Regions from separate parts of the Homo sapiens genome. Here region 2 is linked to region 1. The links are contacts of gene promoters, found by promoter capture Hi-C in human tissues and cell types (Jung and others, 2019). All regions are on one chromosome and are shown on one strand. The core of a region is centred on a gene start or on the middle of the fragment in contact, and the rest is flanking DNA. Distances in the headings are between cores, read along the strand shown.

Region 1 (3,249 bases), core at 750-3,249:
GGTGGATCACCTGAGGTCAAGAGTTTGAGATCTGCCTGGGCAACATGGTGAAACCCCGTCTCTACTAAAAATACAAAAATTAGCCGGGGAAGGTGGTGGGTGCCTGCAGTCCCACCTATTCGGGAGACTGAGGCAGGAGAATAGCTTGCATCCCGGGAGGCATTGCAGTGAGCTGAGATTGCACCACTGCACTCCAGCCTGGGTAACAGAGTGAGACTCTGTCTCAAAAAAAAAAAAAAAAGTCTCAGCCTATGAGCAAGACGCATCTCGGGTTAGTGCTAACTTTGTAGCATTCTGTGGTATCATTAAGCCCAGATAAAGTAAAATTGTTCCTAGACTGTGAGCAGGGTGTGTCCCTAGTTCTGAACATCCCACAAGGTTAAGGGGAAATTTTTTTGAAAACACTCAGTTATGTATATTTTTCTCGCACAAATAAAAACGAAGGATACAAGGGTGGGCCAAGGAGTTCACGGTTTTCACAACCCATGTTAAGTTTTTGCTAACGTTTGAAGAAAAATGGAGATGCTTGTATTGCTTAAACCATTTGAGAATTCCCTTATATTTGATAGATTCTGCCACTGTTCAACGTGACCAGAAGTGAGAGGATGAATGTGGGGTGCATGTCTTTCGGATGGTCCCCTGCAGGCAAAGGGGCTAGCCTTTGACAATTTCTCCACACGCTTCGGGGCTAGCTGGTATATTCCAATTAAACCAACATGTTTCCATCACAGACTTCATAGCCATCAAGCAATCATAGCCTTACCCAATGGAGAAAAGGAGCGGGCTTGGAGCGCGTCCACGGGAGTGGGCCTCCCTCTGCGCGCCTCTGGGAATGTTTGCGGTGCTTAAGTCAGACCCGGATTGCTCCAAGCCCAGCTTATCCTCCCCAGTTCTGCCAGGGTTTTTTTCCTCTTGTTTGTTCGTTTGTTTTTGCCTCTCTTTGATTTAACTTTTGCTCCTTGACTAAATATGTGCTTAACGCTAGACAAAGGACACTTCATACCCAAGTCTGTGTCTTTGTTCCAAGATCTGCAATTTCATTTGGTTCCTGTCGGCTTTACAAGTTCAAAACTATGCCCCCGTTTAGGAAATGAATTCAAAGCATGCGGCAAGGGAGACATTCGACAAACCCGGATGCTCTGGAAAACGTTGCCCTTCCTCGAGTTTCTTTCAGTAAAATCTGAATTTTGTTCCCGGGAGGAGTTGGGTTTGTGATTGCTACAGTGTAAGTTGCACCGAAATACTACATCATGTTCTTTGGGACATACATTCTGTTTCAGAATAAGAATGATATTCTTCCTTTCCTAAAATGTGAGAGTTTTATATGGACCTTTTTAAAATAAAAAATTGGAAGCCCTTGGAGTCAAGGCCAGAGTAAGACTCGCAGAAACCAAAGACAGAAAATATTTGGAACCCCCCCTCCTCAGACATGAACCACACTGAAATGTGTCCAGATACAATTCTTCAAAATCCTGGCTTTTCACAGGATGATTTGTTATTGAAAAAGTTGTTTGCTTCAGAATCTGAATTGTTTTAAAAGATTCTGTTGGTTGCCCCTGCTTTGCGGACGCCTTTTGTACGTTCTTCCTGATGTAGCGCTGCGAGGGGCGACTTTACCTCGGCGTTTGACAGGTACGCAGCATTCCCGCACCCGCCTGCGCCTCGCGAGCAGAAAGACGGCGGACTCTGCACCGCTCCACGACACTGGGGACCCGCCCCGGCCAGACCCGTCCCCTACCGAGACCTTGTCCCCGCCCCGCCCCCGGCCGGGGCCCCGCCCCGCCAGCCCCGCCCCCGCCAGCCCCCTCTCCTACCGAGACCTCGTCCCCGCCCACCAGCCCCGCCCCGCCCCCCCCCCGACAGAGGCCCCGCCCCGGCCCCGGCCAGCCCCGCCCCCGCTTGCGCGAGGCCTAGGGCTGCAGGCGCGGAGCCGCGAGCCCCAGCCAATGAGCGCCGGCGGGCCGGTTGCCCAGGCGACCAGTGCGCGGCTCCGCCCCCCGCGGCGAGGCTCCCGCGCGCGGCTGAGTGCGGACTGGAGTGGGAACCCGGGTCCCCGCGCTTAGAGAACACGCGATGACCACGTGGAGCCTCCGGCGGAGGCCGGCCCGCACGCTGGGACTCCTGCTGCTGGTCGTCTTGGGCTTCCTGGTGCTCCGCAGGTGAGAGAGAGCTTCGCGCAGCACCTGCCGGACCCCACATTCCCCAGCCCTCCGCACCTCGGGTTCTCTCCTCCCGCGACCCGCGAATCCCGAGTTCCCGGGGGGAGCAGCCCCAGCTGCTTCTTTCTGGGAGCTCCCCAATACCCCCGAGTTCCCCTGCGGCTGCAGGCACTCTACTCCTGCCGCGCGATCCAGGCCTCTGGGCGACACCCGGCGTGCCCTCGGGAGCCGGCGTCTGTGCCCCGAGCCGCCCACCCCGCCGCGCCTGTGACGCCGGGCTCTGCCCCCCGTGGACGCCCGCAGCCCTCCAGCCGTCAGAGCCCTCTCAGACGCACCCCATCGCGGCCCCGTCCCCACTGCTCCGCGGAGAGCTCCCTCTGCCCTTCCCCCAGGCCCCCCTTTTCCTCCCAAGCCTCTGGGAGGCGCCTTATTCCGCAGAGGCCGGCGCTTCAGCCTGGCAGGTATGGTCTAGCCAGCTGGCCTGGCAGGGTCGTAAGAACAGTGTCCGTGGGCCTCCAAGATCCCGGGCCATGATTTATTTGCACAGTAGGACTGATAGGTCGTCTCTCTCCACTTTCCCACCATTCACCTGTTACCAGCTCACCCTTTCCTCTCCCCCTTTTCCAAATGTTGTTTATGGCAAAGGAGTGGCTTCAGTGATACTGTGATTTACCCACAGCCTGTGAAAAAGTTTTCTGGGTGCCCTAGCCCAGCATTTTTCTAAACTGTGCTTATTTTAAGGATTCTACAGCCCTGACCCTATCTTTCAGGTCAGCACTTTCCATATTCAAAACCTCCAGTGGGAAGCCGACCGGCAGTATCGAATGAACTGAACGGTTGGAAGTGGTGGCAGGCCCTACGCCGCTCGGCTTTGTCATTTGCTTCTTTTTTACTTAGAGAAACTAAGTTCTTAGTTTCTCTGCACTTCCCCTGGGAGACAGGGAAGTTTTTGATGGAGATAAATATCTGGAAGTCCTTTGTGGCCAGAAGAACACACTGACAAACTCTATGTTTACACCTTGTCAAGACTGGATTCTTGTTTCTGAGATAGTGGGGACGTCATGATATTGTTTGGGAGAAGGACGGATTT
Region 2 (3,192 bases), core at 516-3,015, 470 kb after region 1:
TCAGGAAGATGTCACGAATCAGTATCGGTTGCTTACCCTCGTGATCTCGAGGCTGACTGGAGCTGAGGCTCCCTGCTGCTGCCCAGCCCTGTATCACAGGGCATATCACTAGCACAGGAAAAGATAGAAATTCAAAATTTGAAGTGCTGTTTCTACTGAATGCATATTGGTTTTGCACCATTGTAAAGCTGAAACATCCTAGGTCAAGCCATCATAAGTCGGGGATCATCTGTATATTGTAGGTGTTAACTTCAGATAGAATGACTCCTCCCACTGTTTTTCAAAAGTGTTTTAGCTATTCTAGTATTTTTTCATTTTCATATACATTTTATAACAATCTTTTCTATATCCACAAAATAGCTTGCTGAGAATTAGAATTTGTTGGCAATGACATTAAACTTGTATACCAATTTGAGGAGAATTGACATCTTTATTATGCTGAGTATTCCAATCCAGGAACACAGCATGTCTCCATGTGTTTAAACGTGTTTTAAATTTTTCATCAGTATGCTGTAGTTATCGTCATATGATTTGCATGTATGATTTATTAGATTTACATCTAGGTGTTTCATGTCTTTGGTGATTATAAGTGGTTTTGTATTTTAAATTTTTCTTTCCATGTGTGCATTGCTAGTATATAGAAATGCAATTGATTTTTGTATGGCTAACCTTGTAACCATGCTGAAATTACTTACTCGTTCTTGGGGGTTTGTTTTGTTTCGGGGTTTTAAATTCCTTGGGATTTTCTATTGAGGTGATCATGTGATTTGCAAGTAGAGAGAGTTTTATTTCCTCCTTTCTGATCTGTATGCCACTTATGGCTAGAAGTTCCAGTAGCAAGTGGAATGAGAATGGTGAGAGCAAACACCCTAACCTCGCTCTTGATGGGAGTGGGATGCATTCAGCATTCACTATTCAGTGTCCTGTCAGCTGTGGAATTTTGGAGATGATCTTTATCAAGTGATAGGAGTTGCCTTCTAGTTCCAGCTTTCTGAGTTTTTTTTTTTTTTACGAATTTAATTGGTACTGATTTTTGTCCAGTGTTTGACATAGTCATGTAATTGTGAGTTTTTTTTTTTTACGAATTTAATTGGTACTGATTTTTGTCCAGTGTTTGACATAGTCATGTAATTGCTCTTTAGTCTTGCATCCCATGGTTATTGTGTATAAATGAATAAGCAAACAAATAAATGGATTCTATTTTCTATTGTTTTGTTAAGGATTTTTACATCTTTATTTATGAGCTATTTTGTATTGTTTTATTTGATTTGGAGATCTGAGGCTTCAGAAAAGGAAATTAGGAATTAGGAAGAAGTGTTCCTTCACTTCTACTTTCTGGAGAAGACTACATGTAAGTGGTATTAATTCTTCTTTAAATGTTTGGTGAAATTCTTAAGTGAAGCCATTTGGGTCTGGAGATTTTGAGTTTTAAATTATGAACCCAGTTTCCTAAGTAATTTACGCACTTTCAAATATCTATTTCATGTTAGGGAAGCTTGCGCTTTATGAGGATTGATTCATTTGATCTAATTTTTCAATTTCTGTGTCTAGAGCTGTTCATGGTATTTCCTTATTCTCCTAATGCTCGCATGATCTACAGTGATATTCTCACAGGTAATTATTTTAATACATTACCGAACTGCCCCAAATCATAATAACACAAAAGCATTTGTCACGTCTTTCCCTTCTCTCCATGCTGACCCAGGCTCCTGACCAGAAGTAAATAATGGGAACCGCTGAGTGACCTGTGTGAGAGTCACAGGTGTCAGGAGCCCTCCCTGGTGCTGCCCTCTTCCCACGCTCCCAGTGACTGGGAAAGGATACAGGGGTGATGGCCAACACACAGAGCTGGATCTCCCTGTCAGGACTCAGTTGAGCTTCCAGGCTCCCACCCCAGAAAGTGCCTCCTCTTGTAAAGTCAGAGAAACTTGGTCCTGGCTGAATGAACTTCAGCCCTACATAGCCCTACATATCCCTACATGTATCAAAGCAGCTGTAGCAGCAAGCGCTCAAGGAGCTTAAGGAGAAGAAGCAAAGGACCAAGCAATGGAAATGGTAGAGAGAAGGAAAGGAGGGGGGTGAAGGCCTTGGAGGCTGACCTACAGGGATGTTGGATGCCATGGCATGATCAGCGACTGAGATCCTTCCTCCCATCCTGCCACACGGACGTGCCCTGGGGAACGGTGGGTGTGAGCAGCGAGGAGATGCTGTTGATGGAGGCACAGCTGTTCCACTCCTCCCTTCTCAACTTGCTACCTGTAAAGAGCATCTCCGAGTGGATGGATAGCTTTTGAATCCTCTTACAGTTTTTCTTACTGAATTTTCATTAATAGCCTCCTCATCTCCAGAAATGTCAACTTTTTCTTCTTTCTTGAGAATCTGGAACCTTCAGGATAGAGGCCTCCTCTCAGTGGCTGCTCAGGATAATGAATATTTTCTTGGATTGAGGAGGACAACCCAGCTGCTCTCTGGGAAGGTGGTTCTGAGAATCCTCAGGTGCAATGTTTATGATTAGGGGACTGGAGTAGCTGTGAGGGCCAAAATTAGGAAGACAGAGTGTGGACTTCAAAAACTTCTTGGCTGTAACTGGAGTGCTATTCTATTACCAGGTCAAGTCATTGTTCTCAAAATGTCAGATAGTAATTCCTTTTATGGCTGAATGGTATTCCATTGTTTGAATATACATTTGTTTATCCATGCGTTGTTGATGGACATTCAGGTCATTATAAATACAGCTTTTGTAATAGGCTGAAAAAGAGATGTTCATGTCTTAATCCCTGTGAATTAATCTGTGAATGCTATTTTATAATATATGGCAAAAGGGACACTGCAGGTGTGATAAATTCAAGAACTTTGAGATGTAGAGATTATTCTAGATTATACAAGTGTGCCCAGATAATCACAACAGTCCTTTCAAGAGGAAGACAGGAGGCACTGGAGATAGAGAGGAGGAGGTGATCTGATCGTGTTCTGTATGAATTCCATGTCCTTAATTTTCCTCCAGCTCTGAAATGTAGCTGTAGTCACAGCTCTGATTTCTGGTAGAGAATCCCATCAAACTGGAGATGGCCTCTCATTTAGGCAAAGGGAATGGCCCAGGAAGGACATTCTGATTGTCACTTTTCTCCAGTGACCTCTGCCAGCAGCTAGTTTGCCCCTAATTTACTTTTCAGATTGCATTCACTCTGGGAT

Evidence for each region. The method cuts DNA at HindIII sites, captures the fragments that hold promoters and counts their contacts. A contact is called where the count stands out against the background at its distance.
Region 2: a fragment that was not itself captured here is called in contact with the fragment with the promoter of GLB1L2 in region 1 in 3 of the 25 tissues and cell types used here (H1 embryonic stem cells, IMR-90 fibroblasts and lymphoblastoid cells).

Annotation. Positions count from the first base shown.
Region 1 is chr11:134,329,989-134,333,237 of GRCh38, forward strand. GLB1L2 (galactosidase beta 1 like 2) reads left to right here and starts at 2,000. Exons shown (of 19, transcript NM_001370461.1): 1 at 2,000-2,159. The coding sequence starts at 2,074. RefSeq lists a silencer at 1,850-2,149. The HindIII fragment of the contact is 11,293 bases long and covers 1-3,249 here.
Region 2 is chr11:134,804,473-134,807,664 of GRCh38, forward strand. No RefSeq gene overlaps it. Among named protein-coding and RNA genes, the nearest start is that of LINC02714, 70 kb to the left of the region's middle. The HindIII fragment of the contact is 4,993 bases long and covers 1-3,192 here.